2 separate regions of the Homo sapiens genome follow, and region 2 is linked to region 1. Evidence: promoter capture Hi-C in human tissues and cell types (Jung and others, 2019). All regions are on one chromosome and are shown on one strand. The core of a region is centred on a gene start or on the middle of the fragment in contact, and the rest is flanking DNA. Distances in the headings are between cores, read along the strand shown.

What was found. The method cuts DNA at HindIII sites, captures the fragments that hold promoters and counts their contacts. A contact is called where the count stands out against the background at its distance.
Region 2: a contact is called between a fragment that was not itself captured here and the fragment with the promoter of EDC3 in region 1, in 2 of the 25 tissues and cell types used here (H1 embryonic stem cells and dorsolateral prefrontal cortex).

The regions. Positions count from the first base shown.
Region 1 is chr15:74,692,017-74,697,747 of GRCh38, reverse strand. EDC3 (enhancer of mRNA decapping 3) reads left to right here and starts at 1,724. Exons shown (of 7, transcript NM_025083.5): 1 at 1,724-1,868. RefSeq lists an enhancer at 1,675-1,764. The HindIII fragment of the contact is 33,216 bases long and covers 1-5,731 here.
Region 2 is chr15:74,765,761-74,770,989 of GRCh38, reverse strand. No RefSeq gene overlaps it. Among named protein-coding and RNA genes, the nearest start is that of CSK, 14 kb to the left of the region's middle. RefSeq lists an enhancer at 2,879-3,656. The HindIII fragment of the contact is 3,893 bases long and covers 1-3,657 here.

The DNA of each region.
Region 1 (5,731 bases), core at 475-2,974:
TGTCATTAGGGAATTGCATATTAAAACAATAAGATACTACTACACACTTACTTGAACGGCAAAATACTGACACCACAAAACGCTGACAAGGATGTGGAGCAACAGAAACCCTCATTCACTGCTGTGGGAATGCAAAATGATGCAGCCACTTTGAAAGGCAGTTTGGTAGTTTCTCCCAAAACTAAATATACCATCCAATCCAGCAGTTGCACTCCTTGGTATTTACCCAGATGAATTGAAAACTCATGTCTACACAAAAATCTGCACATGATGTATAGCGGCTTTATTCATAATTACCCAAACTTGGAGGCCACCAAGATGTCTTTCAGTAGGTGAATGGATAAACCGCAGCACATCCAGACGATGGAATATTATTATTCAGCACAAAAAAGAAATGAGCTATCAAGCCATGAAAAGACATGGAAGAACTTTAAGTGCATAAGTGAAAGAATCCGATGTGAAAAGGCTGCATACTGTATGATTCCAACTATATGGGATTCTGGAAAAGGCAAAACTATGGAGACAGTAAAAGGAGCAGTGGTTGCCAGTGGTTAGGGGACTGAGAAGGATAAATAGGCAGAGGACAGAGGATTTTCAGGGCAGTGAAACTATCGTGTATGATACCATAATGGTGGATACATGTCATTACATATATGTCAAAACCCACAGAATGTGCAACACCGAGAGTAAACTCTAATGTAAACTATGGACTCTGGGTGATAATGATGTGTCAAAGTTGGGTAATCAATTGTTACCAAATGTACCACTGTAGCACAAGATGTCCATGAGGGGACAAGTTGTGTATGTGCCTGTGTGTACAGGGGATATATGGGAACTCTGTACTTTCTGTTCAGTTTTGCCCTGAACCAAAAACTGCTCTATAAGTGTTCATTAATAACAGTAATTTTAAAAGACAAGGACCCCTTCTGACCTAGGGAATCTCTGGTGATGGAGGGGGAAGGGTGAAGCAGTCCCCTAGAAAGTGTAGATTTTACAAAGTTCTTCAACTGATTTTGTAGAGCTAGGTTTGGAACTGCTACCCTACTCTATGCTATTCGCCCAAGTAGTGGTTCCCAAACCAGGTGTCAGGCTTCAAGGCTGTGCAATATTCCTCATTACACGGTCTTGGCCCTAAACGCATGCTTTCCCGTCTCCCCACAAATCAAGACTCTAAAATGCCAGGGGTAGAAGAGCGGCACTTTCCTGTGTACTGAGTATGGGGGAAGGGAGAGCAGTCAAGCACGGACTGGCTGATTTTAACCCCCAAAAGGGCTGAAGCTGATACGCTTTGAAGATCGACCACGGCAGGAATATCTTGTTTTCTTTAATCCATCAGGGGGTTGTCGCACTTATTAAGTCCCACAGCTGCAGTTTAGCACGGAGGGGCTGTCACGTCACCAGGCCTCCCTGAAAGTCCTCCGCTCCAGCTCTGCGATTGGCGCTGGGGTAACAGGAGGGGAAGCGGGTGCTTTTCATCGAGCCTGCAAGAGGGGGGCCCAGGCATCGAGGCTGGGGAGTCGTGGGTAGAGCCCCGATTCCAGCCAAGACGCCACAGGACATAAGTAAGCGTGGAGGGCAAAATGACTACCCAAGCGCAATTCTGTAAGGCCGAAGGGACGTTCTTCCAACCTCTTAAATTTCCCGGGTGCCACGCCCCTCAATTGACGGCCCTGGATTCCAAGGTGTCGCGCCGGAAGTGACCTCACGGTGGTGGCGTGGAGACGTGGGGGCGCTTCCGGCAGCGGCGGCGGTGGTGAAGGCCGATGCTGTGGGGGTGGGCGTGGAGAGAATTCTTCTGTGGGTCCTCTGGTGTTGAGTGGTCGGCTTGGTGTGGTGTGCGGAGGAGCTCCAGGCCCGTCGGCGCGGAGGTGGGAGCGAAGGGAGGCTACTGGTTTGTGGACGGTCGTGGGAGGGGGCTGCCGGGGTTGCTTTAGGCTTCAGAGTTCCAGGCCTCGTAGACCTTTATAGAGGCAGGCAGGCAGGCAAGAGCTGGGGGCTTCATCGGATGAGCAGGGGACCACGTACTACGGGCGGCCCCAGGAGTTTGGTTTGAGGTGGAAGGCTGAGGACTGCAGGATTCTAAATAGTATGGGGATTGTGTGGGGAGTGAGGCATTAGCTGCTTGGGCCCTTAGTCCAGCCTTGTTGGTGGCTGCTGCAGTTCTTTGGCTCACTCACTCTGTTCTTCGTGCCTCAGTTTCCCTTTGCATAATGAGATACGGTGGCAGAGAAGAACGCCAGTGCCACATCCATGACTGATAGCTTGAGGACGGAGATGAACTGGAGGGTAGAAAAAGAGGATGCCTGAGAAATTTATACCTACCAGGTCACATCTTCGAATCCCAGGAAGTTATCCCTGGATTCATTTCTGCCTTTGATGCAAGTCTGTGGTTCTTTTCAGTACACTTTGTGTGATATTGATTGTATGTATCAATACTTGACTTGCTGAGTGGTTAAAGTGTTTTGGTTTGTGGGAGGCATAGTCCTTGTTGGCTTGGTCAGTTAATTTTCAGTTAATCTCCCAATAGCAATTGCTTCGCCTAACTCTTCAATTGGGAGATTAGTTGAAAATCAACTGACCAAGCCAACAGTCTTCTCCTGTGGTTACAGGTGAGGAACTCGCGACCCAGAATGGTTTTTCTTCTCTTCCTTCGCCACAGACCAAACCGATTTCAGTCTGCTGTCTCAAATACAGGTCTTCACCCCACCAAAACAGAAATGGCTGTCTCCAAGCAGTTTAGTATTTCAACTGGACACCCAGATGGATCCTAATCTTTTTTTTTTTTTTTAATGAATGGCAGATTACGTGTACTGAGCACAAAATCCTCTTAGCTAGTTTCTCTGTATGATGTAAAAACATGACATTTTGTTTATTACCAATTTCTTGGTAGAGCCTCCTTGGCATAGGGCTGTGGGGCTAGAAAAGTGTCTCAAAATTTTTTACCTGTGACCCACAGTTAGATATATTATACATCATGACTTATTGTGCCCCTGCACACTCAGTGTGTACACACACACACACACCAATGAAAAGTTTACTTACCCTTTCTACAGAAGATGCACTCTAAAAAAATATTGGTTGCAACTCACTAAATTGAGTCTGACCCCTAATAGGTCATGACGTATAGTTTGAAAAATATTAAGGCCGGGCACTGTGGCTCACGCCAGTAATCCCAGCACTTTGGGATGCTGAGGCGGGTGGATCACCTGAGGTCAGGAGTTGGAGACCAGTCTGGGCAACGTGGTGAAACCCCGTATGTACTAAAAATACAAAACTTAGCTGGGTGGTGGTGGGTGCCTATAATCCCAGCTATTTGGGAGGCTGAGGCAGGAGAAACGCTTGAACCTGGGAGGGAGAGGTTGCAGTGAGCCAAGATATGCTACTGCACTCCAGCCTGGGCAACAAGAACTAAACTTCTCAAAAAAAGAAAAGAAAAGAAAAATATTAGACTAGGGCCGAGTGCAGTGGTGGGAGGATTGCTTAAGGCCAGCCTGGGCAACATAGCAAGACTCTGTCTAAGAAAAACAACATTAGAAAATGTTTAAAATCCTTGCCATTTGTGAGATTCTGTAATTAATACAAAATGGAAGATGTATCATTTTTCTTTTCTTATCCAGAGAAGGGCTTACTAGAGTTCTCCTAAATTCAGCCAGAACAACAGGACAGGACATCCAAATTGTGGCTCAAAGGAGTGTAGTGACCATAATGATAGTGTGTCAGAATTTTAGCAAGGCATTTATGAAGTTTTTGTTTTTTTTTTTGAGATGGAGTCTCACTCCATTGCCCAGGTTGGACGGAGTGCAGTGGTGCAATTTCTGCTCACTGTAACCTCTGCCTCCTGGTTCAAGCGATTCTCCTGCCTCAGCCTCCCAAGTACCTGGGACTACAAGCATGCACCACCACGCCTGGCTAATTTTTGTATTTTCAGTAGAGATGGGGTTTCACCATGTTGGCCGGGCTGGTCTCGAACTCCCGACCTCAGGTGATCCACTCACCTCAGCCTCCCAAAGTGCTGGGATTACAGGTGTGAGCCACCGCGCCTGGTCTTACTGAGTCTTACTATAACTGAGTGGGCGAGATGGAGGAATTTGCCAGATTGTGGTAGTTAGATGGAGTCATGAGTTTGAAAATCTATGTATGGAGAGGTTTGATTTGTGGACACTACTTACAGCTGGAATTCCGGTGATCTAAACTGGGGTTTCATCACTTTCTTTATATACTTCATGTATTTGAGACCTTATCTAGAAGGTTTGCTTATTGGATTTGGTGCCTTTGTGAAGTAAAGAAAGAGTCATTTGGTTGGTGATTGCCAGAATGGGAAAAGATCTCAATATAATTTGCTCAGTGCTGTTTAATGAAATGAAGGAAGCATGTATAAATGTGAGAAATTGCGCTTGGGTCCAAACAAAATCAACTATACCTATTAGGGGAGGGTGGAGATGTGACCTCACAGGAGTTCTATAATAAAAAGATGTGATGTTTTAATCACCAATCAGTGGTGTGGTTAAGAAGGCTGTGAGAAGAACCGATGTGACCTGCATTAGTATATTGTATCAGGAAAATGCAAAATCTAGAATGAGAAAGGTTGCATCACTGGTAGGCTTGTACCTGGAATATTAGGTTTAGATCTAGATGTGCTAAGAGTAAATTTATGGGCAGAAGTCAAAAGTTTGAAGATATGGTGGTGTTGCTTTGGCATGAATGATTATTTTTCTCCTTGTCATTTCAGGCTTTCAGGTATAGGCTGGGTCACTAGTCTTAAAACATTTCTTCTTGAGAATGTCTAAAAGACTGTGGAATCTGTTAGATCTTATATACTTTTAAGTTGGCACCTGAAACTTTTCATCCTAGATTTACATAGTGTAAGTATTTAATTTTAAATAGTTTAGGATGTAATTTCTGACAAGTAAATATTGACTTCTTAAAAATAAATATAAAATTACCTAAATACAATATCAATTTGATGTTGTAAAAACATACAACTAAACTTTTGAAACAAAGACTGTAAGAAATACATAACATAGCTTATTACATTACTTGATTTTCAGATGTTAAACCCATCTTGCATTTGTGAAATGAACCCTGCTTAGTAATGTATCTACTACTTTTTACATATAGATGGATTCAATTTGCTAACATTTTGTTAATTTTTGTGACTGTGTTCATGATGGATATTGGTCTGAGGTTTCCTTTTTTTTATGTCATCTTTGGCCTTAGTAGCAGGGTAATTATGACCTCATAAAATGAATTGGGAAGTGTTCCTTCCTCCTCTGTTTTCTGAAATAGTTTGTGTAGGATTGGTATTATTTCTTACGTGTTTCATAGAATTTACCAGTGAAGTCCTATGGGCCTGGGTTTTTCTCTCTGGGAAGATTTTACTAATTCAATTTCTTAATATAGTTAGTTGAGTTAGTTTTGGTCATTTTTATCATTTTGGGAGTTTGTCCATTACATATTTTTCCTTTTTCTTTTTGAACTTGTATCCATTCCACTTTTCCCACAGAATTTTATCCTAAAGCAAAAGTCAACTTTCTGTCAAAGGCCAGATGAAAGGCTTTATGGGCCACATGGTTTCTGTGATTACTGCTTAATTCTCACTGTAGTGAGAAAACAGCCATAGACAATATGTGGCCGGGTGCGGTGGCTCACGCCTGTAATCCCATCACTTTGGGAGACTGAGGCAGGCGGATCACGAGGTCAGGAGATCGAGACCATCCTGGCTAACACAGTG
Region 2 (5,229 bases), core at 462-2,961, 73 kb before region 1:
AGGGGCCCCATTTGGCTGTGGAATAACTTTTCTAGAGGAGGTGCTGGGGGGTGGGTGAGCCAGATCAGCATATGGCTGCTGGGACCCCACAGGGCCCCCTACCGTGGGCTGCTCCCTGATTTGAAGGCCACCACCACGCTGGCCCCTGGGGATCCTGGATTGGCCTCAGTGTTGCTGACATCCTCAGATTTTCCTGAGTAATAAGAGCAAAGTGAGGACAGGTAGGAAGGCACACTTTGTTGAACACCTACTGTGTGCTGGGTGTTTGCACATTTGCTCTCATTTGATCATCTTCCTTCAAGGAAAACAGTAGCATCTAGATCTTAACTGTAGGGCAAGGGAGACCCACAGAGGGTGATTTACAGAACCACCCCAGAGCCTGAACTCTTTTTCCTGCCCCATGAGGAGGTCACCAGATGGCAGCTGCAGAGACCCCAGGCCCCAGGTCCTAGGTTTGCTCGGCAGTGAAGGGCTGCAAGTTGGGGGAGATGTTTGCCTTCTGCCTGCCAGCCCTCCATGTAGACCTTCAGAAGCTTCTGGTGCAGGGACCATCTCCTGCTGGACATGGTTGGGGTAGGAGGGTCTGGTTGCAACAGTCCTGGACCTTGAGGTGGGAGGCAGAGATAGGGCACAGGTGGAGGCAGGGCCAGGAAGGAGGAGCATGACATAGCAGGCTGGGGTCAAACTCCTGACTTCACAGTCTGCCCTGAGCCTTCTCCGCAGCTTTTGGCTTGGTCCAGGCCCTTTGAGGGGAATGCCAAGTTGGAGTGTCATGTGTTGCCCCAGTCACTTCTGCATGGGCTCCAAGAGCCACCAGCAAGCTTGAGGCCAGATCCAACTCCGCAAATGACTAGAGGTGTCATCCTGGGCAAGTGACCTCCTGCGCCTCTGTCCCCATCTGCCCAGTGGGCATTAGCACATCGCTATCACAGCGAGCTTTAAGGACTAAGTGGGACAAAGTGCCAGGAGGGACCTGGCATGGAGCAGGTGCTCGGGGAACTTCGGCTGATTCTCAAGTGAAAGCAGAAGCAAGGGGGCAGCTGGACTGCAGCCATCTCCAAGATCCTGGAATTTAATCCCTTTGAATATAAGATCCCTGAGAAGAGGCAGGTGGAGGTGTAGGTCCGTGAAGAACTGGCCGCTCTCATCCCTGTGCCTTTGGCACACCTGCAACCCTCGTTTTCTCACCTGTTGCTCCAGCTAAGTGAGCAATGTGAGAGTCCCAGGAGGTTACAAATGGATCTGCACCATCAGTGTTCCCAGTGCCCCAGCACAGAAAATATAATGAATCAGCCTTGAGGGTAGTGAGCTCTCTGTTCTTAAAAGTATGAGAACAGAAGTTGAACTCCTGGCAGGGAGTTAGATGAGGAATTGGTGTTTTTTTTGTTTTGTTTTGTTTTTTTGAGATGGAGTCTTGCTCTGTCACCCTGCCTGGAGTGTAGTGGCGTGATCTTGGCTCACTGCAACCTCTGCCTCCTGGGTTCAAGCGATTCTCCTGCCTCAGCCTACTGAGTAGCTGGGATTAAAGGTGCCTGCCACCATACCTGGCTATTTTTTTTTTTTTTTTTTGTAGTTTTAGTAGAGACGGGGTTTTACCCTGTTGGCCAGGCTGGCCTCGAACTCCTGACCTCATGTGATCAGCTCGCCTCAGCCTCCCAAAGTGCTGGGATTATAGGTGTGAGCCAGCACGCCTGGCCTGCACGAGGAATTTCTACTCCAGGTGGGTCTATGAGGACCAGGCTGGGGAATGAGAGGAAGTGGGGGGCTGTCCTCTGGCCACTCTTAGTGGCTTCTCTAGAATTTCTGCATAGGACTGACTTGAGACTTGTCTTGAAGTTGTATTTGCAAAACAAAGTCGCTTATTCCTTAGGTTGCCTTTTTATTTGGGGTGGGGTCCCCAAGACAGTGGGTAAAGGCTAGCAGCTATGAGAAACATGTGTTTCTCTAACTGCCCACGAGGGGGCAGCCTACACTGCATTTTCGGCTCCAGTTCTTGGCTGGGGAGAGTGACGCGGGCAGATCCTGACATGAGGACAGGGCTGGGGGCTGATGGATTGGGAAGAATTGGGCATCAGATGGGTGTGGGGCGGGGGCTATTCTTCTCCCCATAGATCACAAGCCCGACTTTTTTGGGGTTAGGAGGAACAGGCAAGGTGGGAAGCTTTCCTTTCAACAGTGAATCCTGCCACTGGAAAAATTTAGTAGAATTTGAAGACCACGGTTGTAGCAAGCGTCCAGGAAGCGTTTCAGCTCGACATTTCGGGACAGATTCCTGCCTCTCCGGGGCAAGGAGCACGTGACAGCATGGCTGCTGGGAGGAAGGGAGCCCCGCACATTGTGCACATGTACCCTAAAACTTAAAGTATAAATAAATAAATAAATAAATAAATAAATAAATAAATAAAAGAAAAGCCCCCAGAGGGCGGCCCTGAGCTCACATAGGACAGTTAAGCAGGGGACTTGAGGCACGGTGGTGAGCTGGAGCTCCTCTGTCATCCCCTGGGTGGGAGGAACCTGGTGCTGGCTTGTGTGTAGTGCGTATCTACCCACTTCAGCCTCCCAAAGTGCTGGGATTACAGGCTCATTGCAGAGCTCCTGGCCTTTTCCCCGGGCAGCCACTCGCAGCAGGCCCAGTGACATCCTGGGTGGATGAGGGCAGGGAACCGAGAGCGGCTGGAGGGGAAGGAGATGGGATAGGACCATTTCTGGAAAGAATGGGTGGATTGGTCACTCAGAGAACAGCAGAACCCAGCCCTTCCAGGAACCATCCCCAGAAGCCCCTTCTGGCTCTGGATGGGCTTTTCTAGATGGGGTGCTACAGGGGTGAGCCCGATGTATATGTGGCTGCCAGGACTCCCCACAGTCCCCTGAGTCTGAGCCCCTGTGCATCCGCAGCTTATGCATGTAGCATTATCAGCGCAGGATGCTCACACTGGTTTAGCACAGTGCGCCTGTAGGCACCGGGAAGTTCTGACTCTCCCTTGGAGTGGGGCCTGGAGCCCCTCTCTGGGTGAGGGGATGGCCTCACCTCTCTCTGGGTGAGAAGGCAGCCCCTTCTCAAACTCATCGGGTGCATCCCTGGGGACACAGGGCAGAAAGACCCATGACCCCCTTTGGGCTCCAAGTTGGGGGTGCAGGGCAGAGGCCAGAGAGCTCAGCCAGAGCCTAGCAGACCCCAGGCGGGCAAGGAGGAAATTATACCGAGTCCCACCCACTGCCTGTTTGCCCAGCTGCAGGGGAGCCTGGCAGGAGCCAGGATAGGATTCTGCAGCCCTGGGGCAGCAGGGACTAGGAGGGGACTGGCCTGGCAGAATGAAGGCTGGGTTTTCAGCCTTGCCCGTACACCACCTTCCTGGAAAGAAGACCTTCTTCCCAGGAAAAGAAAAGCCCCCGGAGGGTGGCCCTTTCCTTCCCGTCCTGGTCTTTACAATCTTGCAAAAGGTCCCCAAATGCATACCTGAAATACCTCTGAGTTCATAGAGCCAAAAAGATCTAGGTTTCAGTTCTGGCTCTTCTGCTTTCCTGAAGAAGCCATCTTCCCTCTCTGAACCTCTGTCTCTCCATCTCTAAATTTGGGTTATTTCACAGGTGAGGCTATGCCTTTCCTAAGAGGGGTGATAATTTGCCTTCAAGCACACAGTAACCCCTTTCCTGCCTCAGGACCTTTGCACAGGTTGGTCCCTCTGCCTAGAACTCTTTTTCCTCTTTTTTTTTTTTTTGATTTTTTATTTTTTGAAGCAAAGTATCGCTCTATCTCCCAGGCTGGAGTGCAGTGGTCCGATCTCGATCTTGGCTCACTATAACCTCCGCCTCCCGGGTTCAAGCGATTCTCCTGTCTCAGCTTCCCGAGTAGCTGGGACTACAGGCATCCGCCACCACTCCCGGATAATTTTTGTATTTTTAGTAGAGACAGAGTTTCACCATATTGGCCAGGCTGGTCTCGAACTCCTGACCTTGTGATCCGCCCGCCTCAGCCTCCCAAAGTGCTGGGATTACAGGCGTGACCCACCGCGCCCACCCTCCTCTTTTCTTTTCTTTTCTTTTTTCAGATGGAGTCTCGCTCCTTCGCCTGGGCTGGAGTGCAATGGCACAATCTTGGCTCACTGCAGCCTCCGCCTCCTGGGTTCAAACAATTCTCCTGCCTCAGCCTCCCGAGTAGCTGAGATTACAGGCATTCACCACTATGTCTGGCTAATTTTGTGCTTTTAGTAGAGACGGGGTTTCTCCATGTTGAGGCTGGTCTCGAACTCCTGACCTCAGGTGATCCACCCGCCTCAGCCTCCCAAAGTGCTGGGATTACAGGCGTGAGCCACCGCGCCCGGCATACCTGGCTATTTTTTTTTTTTTTGAGATGGAGTCTCGCTCTGTTGCCCAGGCTGGAGCGCAGTGGCATGATCTGGGCTTACTGCAACCTCTGCCTCCCAATGCCCAGCTAATTTTTGTAGTTTTAATAGAGACAGAGTTTCACCATGTTGGCCAGGCTGGTCTTGAACTCTTGACCTCAGATGATCCTCCTGCCTCAGCCCCCCAAAGTGCTGAGATTACAGGTGTGAGCCACTGTGCCCAGCCAACCTTTTTTTTTTTTTTTTAATGGGCTCTCGTTCTGTTGCCCAGGCTGGAGTGCAGTGGAGCCATCTCAACTCACTGCAACCTCTACCTCCCAGGCTCAAGCAATCCTCCCACCTCAGCCTCCCGAGTAGCTGGGGTTACAGGCACCCGCCACCATGCCCGGCTAATTTTTATATTTTTAGTAGAGATGGGGTTTTCACCATGTTGGCCAGGCTGGTCCTGAACTCCTGACCTGAAGTGATCCACCCACCTCAGACTCCCAAAGTGCTGGAATTACAGAAGTGAGCCAACGTGCCCAGCCTCCATCTTAACCATTTTTAAGTACACAGTTTAGTGGTATTAAATGCACTCATAATGTTGTGCAGCCATCACCACTGTCCATCTCCAGAGCCCTTTCCATCTTGTAAACCTGAAACCCTACCCATTAAACACTAACTCCCCATTCCCCCTTCTCCCCAGCCCCAGGCAACCACTGTTCTGTCTATCTGTAGGGTTTTGACTATTCTAGGTATTTCACAAAAGTGGAACCATACGGTATTTGTGTTTTTGTAACTGGCTTATTTCACTTAGCATAATGTTTAAAGCTTTACTTTTCAACTAAAATTCACTTCCACCAATGATAAATATGAATGCCAACTTTTCAGCACCCTTGCTAACACC